4 separate regions of the Homo sapiens genome follow, and all the other regions are linked to region 2. Evidence: promoter capture Hi-C in 16 types of primary human blood cells and fetal thymus (Javierre and others, 2016). All regions are on one chromosome and are shown on one strand. The core of a region is centred on a gene start or on the middle of the fragment in contact, and the rest is flanking DNA. Distances in the headings are between cores, read along the strand shown.

What was found. Contacts are between HindIII fragments. The CHiCAGO score rates a contact against its expected background, and 5 or more counts as called.
Region 1: a fragment that was not itself captured here is called in contact with the fragment with the promoter of SLC17A5 in region 2 in 1 of 17 cell types (naive CD8 T cells); the score reaches 6.7 in naive CD8 T cells.
Region 3: a fragment that was not itself captured here is called in contact with the fragment with the promoter of SLC17A5 in region 2 in 2 of 17 cell types (total B cells and naive CD8 T cells); the score reaches 6.9 in total B cells.
Region 4: a fragment that was not itself captured here is called in contact with the fragment with the promoter of SLC17A5 in region 2 in 1 of 17 cell types (total B cells); the score reaches 5.5 in total B cells.

What each region holds. Positions count from the first base shown.
Region 1 is chr6:70,660,548-70,666,860 of GRCh38, forward strand. It overlaps the pseudogene SLC25A6P6. Among named protein-coding and RNA genes, the nearest start is that of SMAP1, 4.2 kb to the right of the region's middle. The HindIII fragment of the contact is 249 bases long and covers 3,881-4,129 here.
Region 2 is chr6:73,650,540-73,657,099 of GRCh38, forward strand. SLC17A5 (solute carrier family 17 member 5) reads right to left here and starts at 3,453. Exons shown (of 11, transcript NM_012434.5): 1 at 3,254-3,453. The coding sequence starts at 3,347. RefSeq lists a silencer at 2,899-3,568 and an enhancer at 4,568-4,657. The HindIII fragment of the contact is 4,556 bases long and covers 53-4,608 here.
Region 3 is chr6:71,280,013-71,286,520 of GRCh38, forward strand. LOC124901339 (a long non-coding RNA gene) reads right to left here. Exons shown (of 6, transcript XR_007059640.1): 4 at 4,848-4,928; 5 at 1-3,872. Among named protein-coding and RNA genes, the nearest start is that of OGFRL1, 5.5 kb to the right of the region's middle. The HindIII fragment of the contact is 1,293 bases long and covers 4,507-5,799 here.
Region 4 is chr6:71,366,392-71,372,626 of GRCh38, forward strand. No RefSeq gene overlaps it. Among named protein-coding and RNA genes, the nearest start is that of MIR30C2, 7.5 kb to the right of the region's middle. RefSeq lists an enhancer at 956-2,155. The HindIII fragment of the contact is 212 bases long and covers 3,084-3,295 here.

The DNA of each region.
Region 1 (6,313 bases), core at 2,755-5,254, 3.0 Mb before region 2:
TCACGCCATTCTCCTCCCTCAGCCTCCTGAGTAGCTGAGACTACAGGTATGCACCACCATGCCTGGCTAATTTCTGTATTTTTAGTCGAGACGGGGTTTCACCATGTTGGCCAGGATTGTCTCAATCTCTTGACCTCATAATCCACCCACCTCGGCCTCCCAAAGTGCTGGGATTACAGGTGTGAGTCACTGCGCCCGGCCCCCTGATGTAACTTTTAAAGGCAAAACAAACAAAAAATCTAGGGTCTTTCCTGGGTTTCCTCTTTTTGTGGGTGTGTATATGATGTTTGTTTACCTATCTCCATAATAAATGTTCCTCTTTCCTCAATACATATGTGTTCCTCTTGACTCAATACACTTGATCTCTCTTTAACTCTTGTTATTGATGGGTCTAAATTGTTCTACTCTGTTTTCCATCTCAAGGGACAGCATAGCTTATAAAAAACCAGGGCCTCAGTGCCAACAAGACATAACCTCGAAAGCCAGTTTTGCTACTTAATATCTAGGCTTTCAACCAAGATACTTGATTGATAACCAAGATATCGATAACTTTCAACCAAGTACTTAACATCTCTGGGCCACAGTTTCTGTGCTGTTCAGTGATATTTCGGTTTCTCCTTCTAGGTAAATGGTAGGATTGCACTTCTGGTTCCCTTGACATTAGGAGGGTTCATGCATTTGCTTTGGCCAATGGCTTAAAAGTGGAAGTGGATATGTATTATTCCTGGGGAGAGACCTTTAAAAGTCATCTTCCTGCCTTTTCCCTGAAAAGTGATAGAGACTTTATCAGCCTGGTACCAGAGTGACGACAACATAGGGTAGAATCCCTATGAGCCCAATGCTCATGTAGCATGACCAAGAAGAAAATTCTATTGTCTGAAGCCATTACGATTTTGAAGTTATTTGTTATCTCAACATGAAATACCTCATCCTGGCTGATGTTTCCTGATGTGAAAAATAGTATAATAAGATTGATTACATTATTCCACAGTGGGAGATTAAAAAACACTGGTTCTTATTACTATTATGCTCATCCTCCCAGTTGTCTATACCTACTGCTCTTACCAGTTGTTCCACCTACACCCGCATATTTGGCTCATTCTTGTCCATTTCACTTGACCTAAATTTTTTCCTTCATTTTCCTACTCCATCACTTTCCCTCTTTACTTATATCCTCTGTTGAATCCTGGTTCCATTGTAGTCAAACTCCCTAAACCTGTTTCTCATCTTTTTCGTCTGACCAGAAACAAAAAATTAGAGTCAAAAGTGACCTCATCTCTCTAAGAATCTGCAAAAACAGACCCTTCAACTTCACTCCCCATCCAGCAAGCATCCATAGACACCTTGACTTCCAGGAGTTCATCAGGACAAGTTACTACACCCCTCTGAGAGGTGTCACTAGGCACTTCTCTTCATTTAGCTGTCCGCATCCTTTTCCTAACCATACCACATCACCTCTGGCCTCAAAGAAACCTATAATCATTGCTTGCTCCTACTTCACTTCTCACACACACTTTGGACACTTTCCTTACTTTACACTCAATAGTTAACTCTAGCACTGCTTCCTATCCTTGTACCTTTTTTCTTTTTTCCCTTCTAACCGTCCCCATCCCTCCCTCAATATTTCATGGAACCCTCCAGACAATCACAGGCTTTGGAAGTCTCATCAGATGATTTATCTTCTCTTGTTCTTGAGCTATGAAAGAAAACAATGAACTGTGCAGACCCATGACCACATGCTGTATGTACTGTCTAAAATGGAAATAATTGACTTTTCTGGAATAGTTGGCATTGGTTGGTGTTCACCCTTTCTTCTTCAAAACTGTTCCTTCCCTGGCTTCTGGTTCTCCACTGTTTTCAATGGTTCACCTTTCTCTGTCCACTCTTCATTTAGTAGGCAATCCCCAGAATTTTGTCTTTAGGTCTCTCCTCTCCTTTGTCTATGTGCTTTCTCCGGGGGAATGTCATCCATCTTTACAGCTTCTATGACCCTTTAAATGCAAATAATTCCCAAATGACTTTTACCAGCAGTAACTCCTCTCCAGAGTTCTAGAAGTCAATATACAATATCTCATTAGACACATGAAGCTGGATGTCCTAGGCACATCTTAAACTTAACATGTCCCCAAGCAAATGCTGCTTCTCCCCGACCCCAAATCTGGACTATCTCTTTTGTTCTTTCTTGTTTTTTCAGTGTCCTCTTTTTACTGTTTTGCAGAAGAATGCCCAACATACAACATGATTGCAAATATTTGGCTATGCAAAAGAGGAGATAGTGCTCAAATACAAATGGGAGACATGACTTTTTAAAAAATAAATATTTGCCAGGCATGGTGGCTCACATCTGTAATCCCAGCACTTTGGGAAGCTGAGGCGGGTGGATCACCTGAGGTCAGGAGTTCGAGACCAACCTGGCCGACATAGTGAAACCCCATCTCTACTAAAAATACAAAAAATTAGCTGGGTATGGAGGCAGGTGCCTGTAATCCCAGCTACTAGGGAGGCTGAAGCAGGAGAATCGCTCGAACCTGGGAGGCAGAGGTTGCAGTAAACCAAGATTGTGCCGTTGCACTCCAGCCTGGGCAACAAGAGTGAAACTCCATCTCAAAAAAATAAAAACTAAAATAAATAAATACAAAATAAATAAATAAATATTTAAACACAACTTGGGTTCTACAAGTGCCTGGACTACAGGTCTGTTTGAAGGAGCTGCCTTGTTTGTTGACCCATGGTGATGTCATAATTATCGCCAGTAATCAATGCGTGGATTCAGGGTGCCAATGGTTGAATATGATCATGGTGAACCCCTTTTCTAAAGCCTTCTCTAGTCCTCTACAGAGGTACTATGGCCAGGACCAAGAAAATGAAATTTCTCAAAGGTCAGTGGTCCATAACAGTTAAGTATGCTACATGATTCTCTTGGTTTTCATTTCTAGTGAGGAAACACACTTACTCTTCTTCAATTCCACATACAGGACAGGCCTAAAAGCTCCTCCCATATCTCTGAGAACATTAGACCATGCACTCTTGAAGAAGGCTTTCCCTTTTCCTCCTTAAAAATCTTCCTCCAGCAATTGAGGGTTCCCATGTGCAGTATGTTGGCTCCTTTGGGTCTGCACAGGGCCCAATGGGTAGAAGGTCATGTTGGCCGCACCACCACAGTCTGGGCAATCATCTGGCTCACCATGATGTGGTGGTCTTGGAGTCAGGGAGCATGCCTTAGGCCTTCAGGCTGCCCAGAAAAGGATGATGCCCTGCACAGAGATGCTGAAGCCCTGGTACAGGCCCCAGATCCCATCAGACTTACTTATCTTCACCAGACAGTCTCCTAGGTCTTTGAACCTGAATCCCAGCTCTGTGTACGATTTCCCAACATTGACCACCAGATGGGTTCTGGCAAAACCCAGCAAGTACACAAAACAGAGACAGGTGGCTCTGGCCGCCTTGTTGGAGGCCAGATTGTGGGCAAAACAGCTCTAGAACTGTGTGTGTTCATCCATACTCCCAGGAATAGCTGTGTCTGCTTATCCTTGAATGTGATGTTGAGGGCTTGCTTAAGAAAGTAGTCCACAATTCCTGTGCACTGCTGTCAGCTGTCACCTGCTTCCTAGCGCCTTGCATCTGCTACAGCAGCTTCACCTGCTCAATCAGGGCCACAACTATCTTGGCGACAGCAGCAGCAATGCCACCAGCCAGATGGTCCTTGGCAAAGGAGATCGCCTGTTGTGTCATGGTTGCAGAGCAGGAAGCTGAGCACATGGAGAACTGGGAGGATTAGTGCTGCTGGCTCAGCCCTGTGACTGCTGGACCTAGAGGCCTACCTCTTCTATTCTTGATCTGGGTTAACGGCATTACCATTTACCTTTCTCCCAACTTAGAAAGCTTGATGTTATTCTCACCTTCTTTCTCTTGCCCTCCACATACAGTCAGCTGCCAAATCTTGCTGCTTCTAATTTTAAACCATCATTTGATTCTGTCTCTCCCAAACCCTACGCTACTTGCTTAAAATAGGCCTTCATCATATCTTCTTTGGACTATTATTGAGACAGGCCTGTAATCTGTTCCCTTGATAAGTTTTTCCCCACCATGTTCTCCATACTGCCACTGTATGGAGAGTTACTGAGAAGAAAGCTTATCAAGCCATTTTTCCGTGTAAAAGCTTCTATTGGTTCTATAAACCCATGAGGTTCAAACTCTGTTGCTTGGCTACAAAGCTCTTAACCCTCTGGTGGCAATCTACCTCTCCATCTTGTTTCCTTTCCTACCTTCATGTTCTCCAAACACATTCTAGGTTTCTTGGGCCTCATATCCTCACTATGTCTAGCATATAACCCTGAACTTTCAGAAGTCCATACGTGTTTTTTAAAGCAATTCCTTTCTCTCCGCTCCACCCCCATTCACTTGAAAAATTCCCCCATCTGTTAAAAGCCAAGTTTAAGCATCACCTCCTCCGTGAAACTTTCCCAGATTTTCCCAGGCTACTGGATGTTCTGTTCCTTTTGCTCCGAGAACACTTTATAATTGCTATAAACTTTACAGTGTAGTCCTTTTCTATTTACATATTTGTAGCTCATAGTAGACTGTAAGCTTCTGATTATTAGTGTACTAGATAGAAGTTGTTTGATAAATACTGGTGAATAAATGCAATGTTGTTTTCTTCCCAGGATGTTTTGGGGACCAGTCTCTTTCTTCCTACTATAGTCTTAAAATACAATCAACTCAAATTTATATTTTAATAGCCTCTAAGCTGACCATCTAGAACCACACTATTCAATAATGTATCCACTAGTCACATGTGGCTGCTGAACATTTGAAATTCATCTACTCCAGGCTGGGCGCAGTGCCTCACACCTGTAATCCCAGCACTTTGGGAGGCCAAGGTGGGAGGATAGCTTGAGGCTAGGAGTTCAAGACCATGCTGGCCCACATAGTGAGACCCCATGGACCAGCAGGGTCTCGAACTCCTAGGCTCAATTTTTTGATAATTTCTTTATTAAAAAATAAATTCAGCCACTCCAAAATGAAATGAGCTGTGTTATACAGCATTTTGAAGAGAATATGAAAACAAGAATGGAAAGAAAATATGCCATGTTTTATATTACATCTCAAAAATATTTTGGATACATTGAGTTAAATCAAATGTATTAGTAAAATGTATTTTATGTTTCTTTTTCTGTTTTTAAATGTGGCTACTGCATTATTTAAAGTTATACGTGTGGCACGCAAGTATTTGTACTGGACATTGCTGTGACCCTTCAATCCATCCTGAAGGTTGTTTTTTGGTGGTAAACCTGTATTCTGTTTTTCTGAGTCCTCACAGTGCTGAACAGAATTTTTGTAGGGAGGAGAGGTACTCAAAAAATGGTGTTTGTTTACTGGTTACTGCAGGACTAACTTTCCCAAAAGATCCTTTTTATTATGCTATTATCCTACTTGAAGAATCTACAGGTTTTCTTTTTCTTTTTTTGGGGGGGGGGTGGGTGGGGAAGGAGTTTTGCTCTTGTTGCCCAGGCTGGAGTGCAATGGCCTGATCTCCGCTCACTGCAACCTCTGCCTCCCGGGTTCAAGCGATTCTCCTGCCTCAGTCTCCTGAGTAGCTGGGATTAAACAGGCATGCGCCACTACACCCGGCTAATTTTGTATTATCAGTAGAGACAGGGTTTCTCCATGTTGGTCAGGATGGTCTCGAACTCCCCACCTCAGGTGATCCGCCTGCCTCGGCCTCCCAAAGTGCTGGGATTACAGGCGTGAGCCACTGTGCCTGGCAAAAATCTACAGGTTTTCTACTGTCAATTTGCATCAAGGCCAGACTACTTTGTCTGGCTTCCCAAGTCTTCCATAACCCTATCATAGTTTACTTATGCAGCCTTATCTCAAAAGTAGTACCTTTTGTTCCAGTCTGTTTTCCAAGGTACTTCAGGTCTTCATGCTTTTGTGCAAGCTGCTCTTTCTTAATATCTCCCTCCCCAGTCCCCATCTAAATCCAGCGTATCTTCAGGACAAGGCTCGTAAGTTCTACCTCCCACATAATGTTTTTTTCTGTTCATTGGAACTCACCAATATCTCCCTAGTAGTTATTTGTCAGAGCTATGTAGTATAAGCTCTAATTTGTTTAATTACTGAGCATCTTCATTGCCATATCCATTCAATTTAATTCCAGAAACATTTTTGAGCCCCTGTGCCAAGAACAGGGCTAGGTAGCAATGAGGGTCACTTTTATGCAGGGACAGGGGCTAGAAATTGGCCTTACTAAGAAGTGTAAGACCGACTCTTGCTCATTGCCTTTCTTAGCATCTGCTTCATCGCAGGCAAG
Region 2 (6,560 bases), core at 2,203-4,702:
AAAAAATTAGCCAGGTGTGGTGGCACATGCCTGCAGTCCCAGTTCTTCAGGAAGCTTAGGTAGGAGGGTCACTTGAGCCTGGGAGGTTGAGGCTGCAGTAAGACCTGTTTGAGCCACTGCATTCTAGCCTGGGCAACAGAGTGAGATCCTGAAAAAAAAAAAAAAGAAAATAAAGTGTTGGACTTTGATTGTAACCCAAGAAGAAAGCAAAATGGAGAGGGCTGAAAGTTTAGGAAAATATACACTAGAATATAAAAGTCTATAAGGGCAGGAGCTTTTGTTCTGTTTTGTTTACTTCTTTGTATCTCCAGTGTCTAGAGCCGTGTATGGGAGAATTAGCATGCTGACACAATTCTACTTTCTACACTTGTATTCTACTTATGGAATAGTCATGACGGTAATTAAGACAGACAGACTCATAATCCTATCAAATCTTCAGATCTACTAATTACCAATTTACAGTAAATCAGGAGGGCAGAAGATGTTAAAGGACAACATAAGGATATAAAATTGCAGGGAAAAGAAAAGGAGCGGGGCAGGGGAAACAGATTAAAAGAGACAAAAAACATTTCAATCATTTGGAAGGTATGGACATTATTGAGATCCTGATTTGAACACACTATAAAAAATTAGGACATAGGCCCGGCCCGGTGGCTCAGGCCTGTAATCCCAGCACTTTGGGAGGCCAAGGCGGGTGGATCACCTGAGGTCAGAAGTTAGAGACCAGCCTTGCCAACATGGTGAAACTCCGTCTCTACTAAAAATACAAAAATTAGCTGGGTGTGGTGGCGTAGGCCTGTAATCCCAGCTACTCGGGAGGCTGAGGCAGGAGAATCACTTGAACCGGGGAGGCTGAGGCTGCAGTGAGCCGAGATCGCACCACTGCACTCCAGCCTGGGCGACAGAGCAAAACTCCGTCTCAAAAAAAAAAAAAAAAAAAAAAAATCAGGACATAATTGAGGAAATATGAACACTGAGTATTTTGTAAGTATTATTATTATTTTATTATTATTATTTTTTGAGACGAAGTCTTGCTCTTGTCACCCAGGCTGGAGTGCAGGGGCGTGATCTCGGCTCACTGCAAGCTCCGCCTCCCAGGTTCACGCCATTCTCCTGCCTCAGCCTCCCGAATAGCTGGGACTACAGGCACCCGCCACCACACCCGGCTAATTTTTTGTATTTTTAGTAGGGACGGCGTTTCAGGCGTTTCACCTTGTTAGCCGGGATGGTCTCGGTCTGCTGACCTCAGGTGATCCGCCCGCCTCGGCCTCCCAAAGTGAGTAAGCATTATTTTTATTTGCTGTGATAATAGTACTGTAGTTATGTTAAAAAGAGTCCTTATCTTTTAGAGGTAAATAATTGAAATATTTACATATGAAATGACATGGTATCTGGGATTTGCTTCAAAATACACAGTATGTATGAGCATAAGGCAAGACTGGCCATGAATTGATAACTTTAATCTGGGTGCTGGTTACATGGGGGCTCATTATATACTTCTCTTAATTGCCATATATGCTCCTTCTCTATAAAACTTATCATATTCTAAATAGCAAAAACAGTATGTTACTATTATTTCCACTTCACTTGCTCTCCAGTGGGTATGTAAAGAGGGAAAATAAAAAAGGAAATGGTTGTAACAAACGTAGCCACCTAAAGCCAGGAAGGACAGGGCCAGTACCATAAGATCCATACACTCAACACATGAATCAAGTAGGGATTGTTTTTAAAAGGGATGCTATAAGCTACTTTTTTAAAAATCAACTTTATTGAAGTATAATTTACGTGATAAATGTATACATTTGTCCATCTCAATCTTTATTGAGATGTATAACTTTTCTATCCACATCTCTGCTAACATTTGGTATTATCAGCCTTTTGGATTTTAGCTATTCTAGTGGGTGTATAGTGCCTCGTTGTAATTTTAATCTGCATTTTCCTGAGAATAATGTTTAACATTTGTGCTAAATTTTGATTATACATATACATATTTTTCAATTGTAACAATGTAATAATCTCTGGCAAATATCTTTATTATAACTTTTATTTCTGTATTTCTATATTATTTTATGAGGAATATTATACAATTTGAACACTACAAGCCACAGAAAATGATCAGTTTATGGAACTAAGTCCGACTTCCAGGTAAAACGTAACTATGGTATGGTATTTACAGTTTGTGTTGACTAAAATAAGCTCCCGGCTGCCAGATGGAGCTATAAGGTTGCCACCTCTACTGCCACCATCTGGTAACATTAAAAACAAATAAAAATATAGAAACTATACAATTCTGGGTTAGCCAAAGTCAAATTTCCAACACAACTCTTTCTCACGCACAGATCTTTGAAACTATAGAATGCATTCAAACTGATTTGTTCTTTAGTTTTCGTTACTTTTAAATAAACTATATTACAAAAGTGTCAAATAGCAAAATATTTTAATTTTCTCAAATTCAGGGAAGATGCTTTATGACGTACCTGCTTTTCGATTTGTTCCAAGACCTTTGGCAAATTACTTTAGAACTCCATAGGTATCTTGAGGATAACTGAACCTTTTCCTAACTTAAATCATAGACTGCCAGACGGAAAAAAAATGTCCTCGATGTTTTTAGTCTCTTACTGCACAATGTCAAGATATCAGCTGGGTTATACAATAGTTGCCCTCTGCATACTCACAAATGTTAACTCCAGTCCTTTTTTGTCTTCCCTCCCCGCCTAAGAAGCTACCAGGTCACATGCTGGCGGATACGCAGTGGCGGAAACCTAGCGGTGACAGGGAAGGACAGCCCTCTGCCTACTGATCTGCAGGTTTCTCCTCCAGTTTGCTCTTACACCGGGGTCCTCCGCTCGGACCTTAGCCCATTCATTTGATGATTCTCTCCCAGTTCGTTCTTCCACTGGGTCCCTTGCTCAGCACTACCCAAAATAACCACCAGCTCAGCGCCGGCTGCACCGCCGCTCCCCCGCCCCCGCCCCCGCCCCCGCCCCCGCCCGGTGGGGCTGCACCTGCCGAGGCCCCGGCTCGGCTCCGCGATCACGGTCGCGGCCCCCGGGGTTCCCGAGGGGCTTCTGCGCACCGAGGCAGGCGGGACTGAGCGGCACTCTGAACGGGCTCCCCTCTTAATGTCCCCTCGCGCCTGAGCAGCTCCGGTCCCGCCGGCGCAGGGTGCGGGTACCCGGGCCATGCCGGCCCAGAGACCGCCGCCCCCGGTACCGCTGCCCACTCGAAGCCCCTGGACGACCCCGCCGCTTACCGGCTTCGGCCCGTGGGGCGCCCGGTAGAAGAGGCGTGCGGTCCGTGCTCTCCTCGCCATCGTTCCGGGCCAGGTCTCGAACCGGAGACCTCATGACGCCTACGTGAGCAGGTGTACTCGCCACCTGGCAGAGAAGGGAGCGCCGGCCCGACAGCCCGAAGCCCCCGGGCCGAGCTGGCTGGACCGGGCGGGGCGGGGGCGATGACACCGCCCCGCGGCCACGTCTAGTCCCCGCGGTCCCGCCCAGAGGCGGCCGCGCCGACTCCGCCCCCGCCGCCATCTTAGGTGTGGGCAACTCTGGCTTGGGTTGGACTAGGGAAGCGGAGTTCTGGGAGTTCTCGTAGGATTGGCGCAAAGTGAGCCCGCTCCGCCCGCCGGTCTACGCATGCCGGGGAGCCGGTGTTCGGACGACCGTCTCCCGCTCCTGCACCCCCTTGTAAAGTGCAGGGGCCACCCTGCCCGCAGCGAGGATGAGTGGGGGCTTGCGGGCGGGCAGTGGGGACTTGAATTGCACATAATTAAGGGGAGGGCTTCGACCGAACTAGGGAAGTGGGTGGTGTGCATTTCACAACTTGACATTCGCTTGTTAGCGGTCAGTTGCCATACTGTTAGCAACCTTTGTACGATCTACCTCGTGACTGTGGCGGCATATTTACCTCGTGACTGTGGCGGCATATTGTCCCTAAAATAGCTTTTTTTTTTTTTTTTTTTTCTCCCAGGCAGGGTCTTGCTCTGTTGCCCAAGCTGGAATGCAGTGGCGCAATCGCAGCTCACTGCAACCTCCAACTCCTGGACTCAAGCGATTCTCTTCAGCTCCCCCAAGTAGCTGGGACTACAGGAGCATGCCACCACATCTGGCTAATTTTGTTTCTACTTTTTATTTTTGTAGAGGCTTGGTCTTATTATATTGCCCAAGCTGGTTTCGAACTCCTGGGCTCAAGCAATCCTCCTCGGCCTCCCAAAGTGCTGGGATTACAGGCGTGAGCCACTGCTCCTGGTCCTAAAATAGCTTTTAGGCGGAAAAACAGCAATGGAAATTTGTTGAGTCCTATGATGTTGCTGGTTTTATAGGTAAAAGTAATCAACATAGGTAGTTTCATATGGTTCGACCTATGGAATCCTCTGATGTATGTGTGCATGCTTTATCTCCACGATAGAATTTGGATAGATTGTGCTAGCATTTGCGGACTCTGAAAGTGAAACTAGGAAAACCCAGCTTGCCTTGGCAGGGCAGATCTGGATCCGCCAATAAAGGCTGTCTCTGTGGAGGTAGAAAATAAGATGTAGATGCTCTCGGAGAGTTTGGTGTAGACAGGGAAGACCCACAAGCCACTAATTCAGTAAACCAGGTTAGAAGCTTAGTGAGGTTCACGTGAGAACAAAGGGGAGGGTCCTTTACCTAGAAGGGAGGGCGAGGATTTCTGTAGGCATCCCTACCTCCAGATCAGTAAATGCTAGAAAAGTTCTCAAGTTAAAGCAGCAAATCAAGCCTTGTTTCTGAGTTACTGAATTACCATGTAGATTTTTACACTCTCTAAGGGTTGTAGAAAAATGCAATTTTCAAACTGGATTATGCAGAGTCACCTGGCAAATCCTTTTAAAATGTAGATTCAGATTCAGCAGATCTGGTGTGATGGTTAATTTTATGTGTTAACTTGCTGGTTGTCTTTGGATGAGGTTAACACTAAAATCATTGAACTCTGGGTAAAGATGGCTGCCTTCCATAATCTGGGTGGGCTTCCTTCAATCAGTTGAAGGCCTATCTAGAATAAAAAATCCGACTCCCCCACTTCTCTTGCCCAAGCAAGGGAGACTTCTCCAGCAGAGTGTCCTCAGACTTCATCTGCACCACAGGTCCTCCTGGGTCTCCAGGCATGTGCACCATCATCTGTTTTGGGTCGAGTTGGCCAGCCTATATTGTGAAAGCCAAAACTTTATTACCCAAACTACCCAATTGGGGCTGTTTCTCTGAGAAGCCCAGTACATCTGGGATGTGCCTGAGATTCTGTATTGCTAACAAGCTCCCAGATGACCAAGGTTATAGATAACTTGGGCCAGGGAATATAGTTGCAACAGACTTGAAAGACTTCAAACCAGAGGAATTCTTTTTTTTAATATTTTTTATTTTAGAAATTTTAGGTTTACATAAACGTTGCAAAGATAGTACAGTGAGTTCTCCATACCCTTTGCTTAGTTTGACCTATTATTAAGATCTTACATTAGTATCATGCATATATCATAACTAACGAGCCAGTATAGATAATTATTAACTGAAGTTCATACTTAATTTGCGTTTCTTTAATTTTTACCTAATATCCTTTTTCGGTCCCAGGATCTCATCCAGGATGCCACATTACATGTCTCCTTAGGCTCCTCTAGATCGACAGTTCCTGACTTTCATTGCTTTTGCTGACCTTGACAGTTTTGTAGAGTACTGGTAGGTTTTGTAGAAAGTGTCTTAATTTGGGTTGTCGAATTTTTTTTTGAGACGAGGTCACGCTCTGTCGTCCAGGCTAGAGTGCAGTGGCACGATCTCGGCTCACTGCAGCCTCCACCTCCCAGGTTCAAGCGATTCTCCTGCCTCAACGTCCCGAGTAGCTGGGACTATAGGTGCATGCCACCACGCCCGGCTAATTTTTTGTATTTTTAGTAGAGATGGGGTTTCACCATGTTAGCCAGGATGGTCTCCATCTCCTGACCTCCTGCCTCAGCCTCCACCTGCCTCAGCCTCCCAAAGTGCTGGGATTACAGGCATGAACCACCACCCCCGGCCTGAATGTTTTTCTTATAATTAGACTGGGGTTATGGATTTTTGAGGGAAAGGTCATAGAGGTAAAGGGCCATTCTCATCATGTAATGTCAAGGGAATGTGCTGTCAACTTATTTATCACTGATGTTTATCAGTAGTGATGGTAAGCCTCATTGCATGCCTGAGGTTGTGTTTGTCAGGTGTTTTCACTGTGAAGTTAACTCTTTTCCCCCGGCCTTACTTTTCTCTTTGGAAGGAAATCAGTATGTGCAGCCTTCACTTAAGGGGTGGGGAGTTATCTATACTCCACCAGTTTCAGGGGAAGAATTCTTTTGTTTGGGAGATTTGTTTATTCTCCTACATTTATTTACTTATTCAATCATTTATTTTTATTAGTATGATGTCATGGTTATTATTTTATACTTTGGGTTATACTCCCAACACTATGTTATTTATTTTGTTGCTCAAATTGTTCCAGCTTTGGTGACTAAGAGCTCTTTCAGTTGGCTCTTGTGTCTTGCATGCCTCCATTGTTGTGTTTTTTGAGCATTCCCTTAC
Region 3 (6,508 bases), core at 3,903-6,402, 2.4 Mb before region 2:
TCTCCAATTAACCCACTCTGCTTATACATGCTTATCCTTGGGAATGTCTACTATCATCAGTAGTTATTGAACGTTAGTTTTCTACATTAATGCATCATGTCATTGTCTTTAAGCAGCGATGAAGCTTGTAACAGTTGTTTCTATCTTGTCTAAAGCTCATTTTAACATCAAGAAGCAATCCCTTACCTGCAGGGCTGGGACTAGAGTGAAGTGAGTAAGATGGTTAGGGTGCAAAATTTAAGGAGGCATTCACTCTCAGGGTCCTGCTAGTGCCCTGAGCCTATTTTAGGTCAGCGTTGTTGTGTCACCTGTATCTCCAGCTCCAGTGAAGAAGGGAAGAAAGTCACTGGTGATGAAATCAGCTGAGCTTATGGAAGGTAAGCAGGAGAACCAAGTTCTTGACCTTTCTCTTTTCTCCTTTTTGTCACTAACATTCTTGAAAAAATAATATGTTCTATACCAGCAGACTCTTCCTCCTTTTCCTATTCAAATTTTTTATCTATTTTCACCATTTTACAGAAATTGCTCTCACTAAGGTCACAATATGCAAAATTTGATGGCCTCATTTTAGCTTTTTTCTAAATGGTATCTCCTCAGCTTTTGACATTGACCTTGGGAAAAGGTTTGTGTCTCGTTCACCATATTTTTATCAGCATCTATCACAGATCACAGCGATTGGCTCCTAGAAAGCACTAAGTACATTTTTATTGAAAAAATAAATAACTTATTTTATTGACAAAGGAAAGAAAATCATTCCTCTTTTGTTGTGTTCTTACAGCATTTTGTTCATGGGATCTTGTGCTGTCATTCATATTTACTCATCTGTGTTCCCAAGGATTGAGAGCAACAACTGTGTGTTGTAGTTCTTTGTATCCCAGCCTAACAAAGGGCCTGACATATAACAGGTGCTCGATAAAAGTTTGTGGAATAAATACAATTGGTGACTAATGACACAATTATGATGTTCTAGTTACTCCAATGATTTGTGATAAATCATTTCAAAATACAGTGGCTGATATGCTTGGGCTGTGTCTCCACCCAAATCTCATCTTGAATTGTAGCTCCCACAATTCCCACATGTTGTGCGAGGGATCTGGTGGGAGATAATTGAATTAGGGAGTGGTTTCCCCATACTGTTCTCATGGTAGTGAATAAGTCTCACGAGATCTGATGGTTTTATAAGGGGTTTGCCCTTTCACTTAGCTCTCATTCTCTCGTCTGCTGCCATGTAAGATGTGCCTTTTGCCTTCCACCATGATTGTGAAGTCTCACCAGCCACGTGGAACTGTGAGTCCACTAAACCTCTTTTTCTTTATAAATTACCCAGTCTCAGGTATGTCTTTATCAGCAGCATGAAAATGGACTAATATAGTGGGTTAAAACAATAATCATTTATTTTCTCTCACTTTTTCTGTTGGTCAGGAATCTAGGAAGAGCTAGGCTGGATAGCTCACACTGCTTAAGTGATGGAAGGGAGGGGCCACTGATGTGGTTGCAGGCAGATGTCAGTTAGAACTGCAGGAATCTGAAGGCTTGACTGGGGCTGCAGGGAGGATCCTCTTCCAAAGTGGCTTACTCTCACTGTCAGCAAGTTAGTGCTGTCTGTTGGCAGGGGAGCTCTGTCCCTCTCCTTGTGAGCCTCTCCACAGGCCTGCTTGAGTGTCCTCATGACATGGCAACTGGCTTCCCCTAGAGTAAGCAATCCCAAGGTGGAAGCTGTGATGCCTTTTATGACCTAGCCTTAGAAGTTACATGCCGTTACATCTGCCACATTTTACTGGTCACATAGGACACGCATTCAGTATGGGAGGGGACTGAATATCAGGAAGTGAAGATCATTAGGGCTGACTTGGAAACTGGGTACAACAGATGATTGGCCATGAAAGAAAAGTTTTGAATTAAGGCAAATCTATTCTCCAGGCACACTTCTAAAGGTAATTGTAAGCTATGAAGCCTGGAAGAAACAATTGTTGCTTGATAGGATGTCCCCTATCTTTGAAGAGATGGGCATCTGGATTAATTGTATTTCTCCCTGACACCTATAGCCATACCTCAGTTCTCTCCTAATGAAGTTGCTGACAGTCTATAAGGAATTAGTCTTTACCCATCCCCAAAACAGCACACCCATCTCATGGAAGGCCAGACCAGAGTCTGGGGTTGGTTTAGGCTTAAGCAGCCTGGACTTTTCTTTGGGCAGGAACATGATTTGGTTCCTCTGGTGCACTGAGACTGCAATTAGGTTTTAGGATAAAGTGCCAAATGCATCTACCGGTATCCCCTGTGGTATGTCCCAAGACCCAGTGACAGCAGGACTTCTGGTTGTGATGTATCCTCAGAATCATCTGCACTCAGAGGAGCCTGGAGGAAACCCATCCCTGCCAACTGCCCTTGGGGTCCTTTTATAAGATAAAGAGAAGGCAGAAACTCCAAGGAAGGCTGCAGGAAACCCATTAAGAATCACATATTCCTTGGCTACAGATTTAATGACAAGTGCCCTTCTGAGCCAGGGGAGAGTCCAGTGTGTTTACTCATCCATTTTTTATTCCGTTACTTGTAATGCTTCAGAACAGATAAATTTCAAGGATCAAGAATAAAAATTAAATAAAATAGGAATACATACTCAATATAATAATTGGGAAAAAAAGATTGTGGAATACATATCTATTTTTATTCAGGGAAAATAAGCAATAATTTTGGAGGGTAGGGGCAAAATTTCTTCTTTCTTTTCTTTTTTGAAGTCAAATATGTTATATCTCATAGTATTTATACTATTTTTTATATCAAAATATGGTCTAAATGCTGCTGAATTATCCAAATAAGAACTCTAAACATTGTATTTGAACACGTCATTATTTTTAAAATTTAAATATGGCCCTATTTTTAGTCTACAGGCTGAATTTATGCAAATGATGATTAACTGAATTCTTATATTAATTTCAACTTAGCTCCACTGATATGTTATTATGCACTAATTCAACACTCATACATTCTATGGACCTTTTACCTTTGCTTTATTAACAACTTTAGTGCGATTGGTAAAAAAAAGTCTTTAAGCTGTGAAAATACTCAGTATCAGTTATGAGTTTAGAGTTGGCCTTTGAATTGTAAACTATTTCTTAGGAATAAATTAGTTCTGTAAAGTTAAACATTCTCTTTCAGCAAACCATAATGCATGAATTCTAGAATGTACAAGTTTTTACATTTAAATATCTCTGAAATAAGATGCATTTGAGAATAAATGATTCTTAGGTTCCATGAAATGCAATACGTTATTGCTTTGGTGTATTAGCAATGCTCCAGTGGCCTGGAAAAGGCTGCAAAGGCACCTGACACATGCAGCCAGGTCCGTCATCTACTTCCTATCTGTTACTTTACCAAGAAATAATAAAACCAACAAAAAGAACTACCAGAAATAATGAAAACAGGGTTGCTTTTGATGAAAGAGGCTAAAGATTGGTTTTTGAAAAATGAACCAATATCCAAAAACCTTAAATCAAATGCCCTGGCCTGCTTTGTCCCTTACACACCTCACGCACCTGTTCTCTGGCCACTCTGGCCGTAGGGGCTAATCTTGTTCTTGCCTGGGGCCTTTGTCCATGCCAATATCTTTGCCAGGAATGTTCTTCTCTCTGCTCTTTGTCAGGCTAATTTCTCTCCTGTCTTTCATTTCTTCCCTTATATGTCACCTCCCCAGAGAAATTCTCTGACTCCCAGAGTAAAGCCAAAACCCCATGATCTCACTTTGCCTGCATTATACTTACAATTTGTAATTATTATTATTTTTGAATGTATTAATTGCTGTCTTCCTTAATATATTCCTGACCCTAGGTCAGGAGCTCTCCCTAGGGCAAGGTGGCTTCCCATGATGGATGCTGATGAAAAAAATTAAGTGAGAATAACAAAAATGAATGAACGAACAAACAAATAAACAACCCCAGCAGTACACACACAACATATCCTGCTATTTTTTGATACATTTGATATATAAGATTTGGAAGACCACACGGGTTCAGAAGAGTCTTGGCAGCAGTTTAGGTGCCAGTGAGGGAATTCAATTCATTTGTTACCAATATTTGATAGTAAAATATTTGACCCTTTATATCTATAATAAAAAATGCAGGCTGGGCGCGGTGGCTCACACCTGTAATCCCAGCACTTTGGGAGGCCGAACTGTGTGGATCACCTGAGGTCAGGGTTTCAAGACCAGCCTGGCCAACATGGCAAAACCCCGTCTCTGCTAAAAATACAAAAATTAGCCAGGCATGGTGGCGCATGCCTGTAGTCTCAGATACTTGGGAGGCTGAGGCAGGAGAATCACTTGAACCCAGGAGGCGGAGGTTGCAGTGAGCTGAGATTGAGCCATTGCACTCCAGCCTGGGTGACAGAGCGAGACTCCATCTCAAAAGAAAAAAAAATGCAGAAATCTCTTTGCTACTACAAGTTCAGTTTAGTTGAAATTAGACGTATGTGTGTTTATTTCTGTATCCCATTTAAAACAACCTTGAAAGCTTTGTTTTTGGTATACAGGAATTGCTTTAATTGCTGGTCATTTCTTTGAGAAGAATAAGAAGAAAGAATATTAAGGAAGAGGTAATGGACAGCAGAGATATTTTTGCAACAAGCCTTAGAAAGATAAAAGAAACATGCAGAAAAACACTGAATTGCACAATTGCATTGTCCAAAAAGAAAGAAAGATTTTTGTAAGAGGGGCTATGGTGATGTTAGTGGTTGGCAAGGATACAGGAGAAGATATCTCAGAATCATACAAAAAGTATAGAATATTTGCAGGGAGGAAGGAGGAAAAAATATTTTGTTTTCATAAATTATAACCTATTATAAACTCCTACCTTAAGGAAGGAAGATCCTGGGAAATTTCCAGCAAGTCTTGTCTGGTCAGGAACTCTATGTGAGGTTGTACATGCTGTGTCCTGCATGAAGAGTTCAGTTAAGGTGGTGGGAGGGAACTCCAGTTCAGGCCCTGCTCACTAAGCCCTGGAGCAAAGGTGTCTTATTCTCAAGAACACAAAGTTCTCATGGGTGCTAGCAGAGGCCCTTGGCTACAGTCAATGGAAAATAATATTACAGCATGTTACTACTAATTTCAGATGTTTCTTTAGAGAGCCATCTTTATTATTTTTAATTTTTAAAATAATACTATTTTTTTTTCCTCCAAAGATTTCAGGTTCCTGTGAGGTACTGAGGAGTTAACTCCTGAGGTTGGGGAAAATGGCCCTTGATCTGCCCTTTCCTTTTATTTGAAAGACTCTCAAATTATGTAATAATAAACCTTTGTTAATGTCCCTAAAACAGGATTGACTATAAAAGACAATTCAAGATATGCCAGATACATTTGGGTTTCATCCAAAAAAGTTTAGTTCCTGAAGCACCAGTTTCTTTGTCCTTTGTAAAATGGCCTCACCCTTAAAGGATTTCATAACGAAGTTGAAAACAGAGTTATATTGAAGCATGGCTATAGCATCTGCTTAATTTAGAGCAGATTCTATTTACAGGGAGTCAGAAACTATATTATAGTCCATTGTGATAATAGTTTCTCCTTGTTCCATACATGTGTATATTACTGTTGAATTATATGTTCTTTAAAGACATATTGAATGAATCATCATTACAGCTAACATATATTGATAAATTAATAGATGCCTGGCACTGAGCTAAGTGATGATTTTTATATGAAGCAAAGGTACCCTTCTTTACTGTTGATGCAGGAATGTTAAATACTCTGCAAGGCAGGGATAATGAAAAAAGTTTAGGTATTCGAGAAGGATAATTCCTGTGTATAGAAGCTTGGGATGACAGAACTTCAGCATTAACTTGTAAAAATAACACATAGATTGGGCACAATGTGGTCGTGCTTATTGCTCTAAACTTAAAATTGATTAAATATTATATAAGGTTGGTGTTACGCTTCATGTAAAATTATGTTCTTTAGAAAATATATTGCAAAATCTGGCATATCATCTATGGTCCTATAAAAATTGACACATTTTTCAAAAGGTGGTGTAAAAGGGAAGGATTTAATTGCAGTAGTTACTTAAATGTTTATATGCACAAACACAGATACTTCTCACCATTCCATCATCTACTGATGTATAACAAACTACTACAAAATTTAGTGACCTAAAGCAACAGCCATTTTATTGCATTTCACTCTTCTGTGGGTCAGAAATCTGAGCAGGGCTTTGCTGGGTAGTCCCTTTATTCCAAGTAGGGTCGATGGAGGTCACTGAAAGGTATTCAGATGGTGGATGGGTTGGTCTGGAGGATTCAATAAAAAAAAAAAAACAAAAACGTGGAATCCAGCAGGGGATACTGGAAGGTAGGCCTCAGCTGGTACCATGACCAGAGGATGACCAGAGGCCACACACAAGTGGCCTTTCTAGGAGTATGGCAGTCTCAAGCTAGCTGAACTTTTTACATGGCAGCATGGGGCTAACAGAGAGAATATTCCAAGAGACCCAGTGGAAAATGCAAGGTTCCTTATGGCTTAACT
Region 4 (6,235 bases), core at 1,940-4,439, 2.3 Mb before region 2:
GAGCATACTCAGCTGGTAGATTGGGAAATCCCCACAATTCTAAATTTAAACATATGAACCCGGATAATTTGGTGTTGTGTACATAAAGTGATTTTATATATATATGAAACCGACCCAATAGTCCCCTAGACAGTTTTTTTTGGATAAACATAGAAATTGCCCATCTGGTTTTAAAATTTGAAACTTACATTTGTTTTATCAGAGTTCCTTCCTCAGGAAACCACATTCAGACCTCTCAAAAGAAAAAGAAAATTAAAGAACTGAAACTCACCAGATCACCACATCCAGACAATGAGATGCCAGACCCTTCATTCATCATGATTGCTTCGTTACCCCTCCTCTCTAGTTCTTGTTTTCTTACACATTGTTACATAGCAGGGAAGACCCTGCTATATAAACCCCTAGTTTTAGTTGGTCAGGGAGATGGATTTGGGACTGAGCTCCCATCTCCTTGGCTGCAGCATCAGATTAAAGCCTTCTTCCTTGGCAGTACTCTTCGTCTCAGTCACTGGCTTTCTGTGCAGCAAGCGGCAGGACCCAGATGAACCCATGGCGTTTCAGTAACATACATACATATATATATATATATATATATATATATATATATATATATATATATATATGGATGATGGAATTACTTTACAGAATGTCTGAGTGACAACCTAAAAAAGGGTGAACTCTTGTAGCAGCTCACACCATGAAAACTATAAGCACAGTGAGAAATATGAGTAACATTTAGGACATATTAGCATTCTTTAGCTAACATTATTGCTGACGGTTGTTTGCTAGAACTTGAATCTCGGGATTAAGCAAGCCAGGAAAATTTCTCCTAATCCTGCAGATCATCATATTAAAGCTCCAGACCAAACATGTAGGCCAGAGAATGACAGATTTTTCCTCTACATTTTCTTAATCTTAATCTTAGACTAACCATAGACATCAGATTGAATTTTTTAGGCACTTTCATTACTATCATAAAATTAAAAGGCAAGCAAAAGAATGAAATTTGGGTTCCTGCAGGTCATATGATACCAAAAGAGAGGAAATAAATGAAAAAACCATGGATTGTTAAGTCAGAGAGCCCTCGATTCCAGATAAATACCTGGCACCAACAAGCTTAAGAGTGTGTGAAAGATATTTAGGCAAATTAAGTTAGACAAGATTACGTGTGGTTACAAATAGTCTCCTTCCTCCAACCCTGCCTTGAATCTCAGAAGTTTATCAATTAACCAATGTGTCCAACAGCAGTCAGCAGAGGGGCACTATCCAGTCTAGTCACTCAAGGATCAAGGTGACAAAGCCTCCGTCTTGAAAAACCTCTCACCAACACAGAAGGAAGGGCACACAAGCTCTTAATACTTCCCTGGCTCTTCTGTTCACATTTCATTGATGAAAACAAGTCACACAGCCACACCTAACCTCAGAAGATGTAGAGAAGTGCAATTGATAGAGGCAGGACACAGCCACATCTCCAACCCGACCCACAAGTCTTTACACCAGATGCTTTGTGCAGATATGGGAGCCAGCACAGGGGGCTTGTCTGGGCATGCCCCACAACCACTAGGAGAATGGGTGGAGCCACCAGGAATTCATGAATTATGAGGGGAAAGAGCCTGGCCTCTTCAACTCACGTGTGGTGGCCTGCCATTCAATTTTTGTGAGGTGGAAACCTGCATGAAGGACCCCTCTCTTTGTTGGGAGCTTTCTTTTCACTTAATAAATTCCATCCTCCTCAGTCTTCGATGTCTCTGTGTGCCTAATTTTTCCTGGTTGTAAGACAAGAACTGGATTTAGCTAAACTAAGGAGCAAAAAATCCTGTATCACAATCTTCTCATGTGCCAGAGGAGAACGGGAAGATTCATAAACAACTCCAGTTACTACCACATTTTCTTAAATCCTTCAACTTCAGTTTCCTGCCCTGGAAAATTAAGACGATGATACCTAACTTAGAGGATACTTGTGTTTATCACTTCATGGTCATGATCAGACCTCTGGTGCCACACTGCCTAGGCTGAAATCCCAGTTTTAAGGCTCGTTAGCATAACCTTGGGCAGTTTTCTTAATCTCTTTCATCTCAGATTCCTCATCTGAAAAATAATGTTCATGCATATTGAACTGTGAGGATTAAATCTGTTAATATAAGCCAAATGTTTAGAATAGTGCCCTGTACATAGTAAGGACACTAAGTATTTGCTCTTGACCCCTGGCATGGCTTTGGAATGTACAGAATCCTCAGTGATTATTGGTTATCTGATTATTATTACTATAATAGAAGCCTGGCTTGCTGCTGCCCGTCATTGACTTACTAAATACCTGTGAAAGGAAAGTCAGCAAAAAAAAAAAAAAATCAGATTCCACAAAATGAGTTGGAATATATTATGTAGAATTGAAAGGTTCACTGAAGTATAAGTTTAGCAATAAGCACAACAGGGGTAGTCCCCACAAAATTAGAAGCTTCCTGAGGTGGGAGCATCTAGTTGCTTGCTACTGATGTCCAATGCTAAGACTGAGCTGAGTATTCGTGGAGTGGGATGGGTTGAAATGGCCCAGAATAGTTGCAGCGATTGCACTGTAATTAAAAATGTCTAATTGGAGCTATAGGAAGGCAAGCAGAGACTGGCTTCTTCAGCACACTCATACAACTGGGCTAGCTCCAACATTAAAACTATTTTTAAATTCAAAGGTGGTTTTTATTATATATTTATTTTCATTTTTTTATTTTTTTGAGACGGAGTCTTGCTCTGTCACCCAGGCTGGAGTGCAATGGCAGGATCTCCACTCACTGCAAGCTCCGCCTCCCAGGTTCACCCCATTCTCCTGCCTCAGCCTCCCGAATAGCTGGGACTACAGGCGCCCACCATCATGCCTGGCTAATTTTTTGTATTTTTTTTTTTTTAGTAGAGACAGGGTTTCACCATGTTAGCCAGGATGGTCTCGATCTCCTGACCTCGTGATCTGCCCACCTTAGCCTCCCAGAGTGCTGGGATTTTACAGGCGTTAGCCACCACGCCCGGCCAAAGGTGGTTTTTAAAAATGTGGAATTTTATTTGTCTTCATAGGAACACCTAACCCTAGTGTTGAAAGCTTTTTAGTACAGCCAGAAATTCACGGCTTTCAAGTGACTGAATTATATGGTGAAGTCCTGGATGTTATCAGATTCTCAAATAATGGGCATTACCAAACTACAGAAATAACTAATCTACTCGATGAAACTTGGAGGTTAAAATAAAAAGTATTTTTCTCCCTGGGCCAAAAAGAAGTATTTTAAAGCCATACTTGGCTTTTTGATGACAAAGCTTTTGATGAATTCAAAATTACAGAATGTTTCTAGACACTTTAAAGTCACAGGGCATTTAAAAAGTCAGTTTTAAGGTAATTTTTTATTCTTTAATTGTGGTTAAGATCATCCAGACCATCATATTTATCTCAGACATGCAAACTAGTATACTACAGAGATGTGTTAAACTGAAGACATAAATGTATGTATAGTTCAAATATTCCTAGAAGTAAATGATAACTTTAAGAATGTTCATCCTGGTGAGGGCACTGTTATTTTGTTCAAAACTATTTCTTGTTGAATGAGACTATTCCAAGCCTCATAGGAGTGGCATTCTGCAGTTACTGTGACAAGCAAAAATGCCTGCACACTGCACACATTTCTAAACACTACTGTGGGACTGTACTGTCTCCAGAAGAGACGCTTCAAGGGGACTTTGTTAGCATACGTGCCTTGCTGAAGGAATCACGGTTTTTGAGTTTGGGTTGAATATTTTTAAAGTTTCTTAGTTCAGGCTGGTTGAAACTTTTTCTTTCTTTCTTTTTTTTGGGGGGGGCAAGATCTCACTGTCACCCAAGTGGGAATGCAGTGGCACAATCACAGCTCATTGTAGCCTCGATCTCCCAGGCTCAAGAGATCCACCTGCCTCATTTCTCATTTTTTGTAGAGACAAGGTCTCACTATGTTGCCCAGGCTGGTCCTGAACTCCGGGGCTCAAGAAATCCTCCCGCCTTGGCCTCCCAAAGTGCTGGGATTAGGGGTTTGAGCCACCGGTGTCCGGACAAAGCTTTTTTTTTTCTCCATAATAAAAGGAAATTTTAAAAGACACTTTTAGCACCACAAAATTCTTTTGTCCAAAGAAAAAGCAAAAACTAATCATAATAGCCATTCTAGAAATTAAAAATATGAACAGTAAGTGCATAATCTATTCATATTCTTGATTCTGAGGAAATCTTACATTCAACAAATATGATAGTAGAGGGCTTATGTTTTTCTGTCCCAATCCTGGGTTACCTGACTATAGAAAAGATTAAAGAATCAGAGTCAGAAGCTGGCAGTGTCTCCTTCAGTCCTCCTGCGGCTCTACCGAGAGCCTATATAACCCTGGGTAAGCCAGTTAACCGTGTTTTGACCTCTTTCTTACAACGTGGGTAAGTGAGGCAATGCAGCAACATGGCAACAGCCGAATGCCCTTTAACATCAGCCTTTTTTCTCCTCATCTTTCAGTAATTTCGTTACTTGCCAGAAAATGAGGTGGACTGGTAGCTTTTGAGGGAAGTGATGTTCTAGAAGACAGTATACACTGCAGTATTTTGGAGAAAAGAGAATGTTTGCTGAAACGTCTCTTTGCTTATGGATAGCGTAATCTTTTATGCCAGTTTCAGAGAACGTTCCTCAAGATATGTGCTGTTGCTATGTTTTTAGAGAAAGATGATCTGGGATAAAGTTTCTCTTAGTGACTGCTGGAATAAGAGTTTTACCTGCCTTATTTAAGACCAGATAATACAGCGTTTTTTTTTTTAATTTTAGAAACTTTTAATTAAAGTATAACATACAATCAGAAAAGTGCATGAGTCACCATAGATATGTATCACCATAGATAACTATAGTTTTGCCTGTTTTTGAAATTAATGTAAATAGAAACATACGGTATGTTCTCTTCAGTGTCTGGTTTATTTTGTCCAACTTTATGTTTGTGAGATGCACTTATATCAGAAGTTGCAAATCATTCATTCTCAGTGCTAGATAGTATTCTGTTGTACGAATATTTCACAATTTACGAATCCTACTGTTGGCATTTGGATAATTCCTGATTTGGGGCTATTACAAATAGTGCTGCTATGAACATTCTTATTCATTTCTTCTGAAGAACACTGTGCAAATTTCTGTGAGGTAGGTAACAGCAACTGGGTCACAGGATATGGATCTGTTCAGCGTAAGTAGAGACCACTAAGAAGTTCTCTAAAGTGGCTGTACCAACTTATGCTTTCATCTGCAGTGTTACTCCACCTCCTTGCCAATACCAGATTTTTTTGTCTTTTTAATTTTACCCATTCTAGTAGTTGTGTCTTGCCATTGAGCTGTGATTTCATTTGCACTTATTTGATGACTAATAAGGTTGAGCAACTTTTTATGTTAATTGATCATCTACATATCCTCTCTGGTGAATTATCTGTTCAAATCTTTGCTCATTTTTCTACTGGGTTGCTTGTGTTTTCTAATTAATTTATAGGAATTCTTTATATATACTGGATATAAGTTGTTTGTTATATGTGTTGCTAATACCTCCTCTGGTATATTTTGCCTTTTCATTTTCTTAATGTTGTCTTTTGATGAACAGAAGTTCTTGGTATTATAATCCAAATTACCAGTTTTTTCTCTTTCTGGTTGGTGTTGTGTTGGGAGTTTTTTAAGGGAATTTTGCCCACTCCAAGGTCATAAGGATATTCTATATATTACTTCCTAGAAGCCTTGTTTTACCTTTCGTATTAGGATCCATAGACCATCCTGTCTCCAGTGTACTTCAGTATCATCTTTATCATAATAGTGTGTCTATTCTATTTATCATTTATCTGTTGTGTATCTGTCTGCCATTGTGCCAATATCACACTCTCATCATTACTATGGCTTTGTAACAGATCTTGATATGTGGAAGCATAATTTCTCCATCTTTTTTTCAAGATTATCTTGTCTAGCTTTTGCTGTTTGAATTCTAAATTTTAGAATCAGTTTATTAATTTCCAAACATACACCTGCTTACATTTTGATTGGGACTGTACTGAATCTACAGATCAACTTGGGGAGAATTAGCCACTTAACAATACTGAGTCCTGTTCTCTATGAACATGGTTTATCTCTCCATTTATTCAGGTCTTCTATAATTTATCTCAATAATATTTAGTTTCCAGTGCGGAGGTCTTATGCATCGTCTGTTAGATTTCCCCTTGGGCATTTGA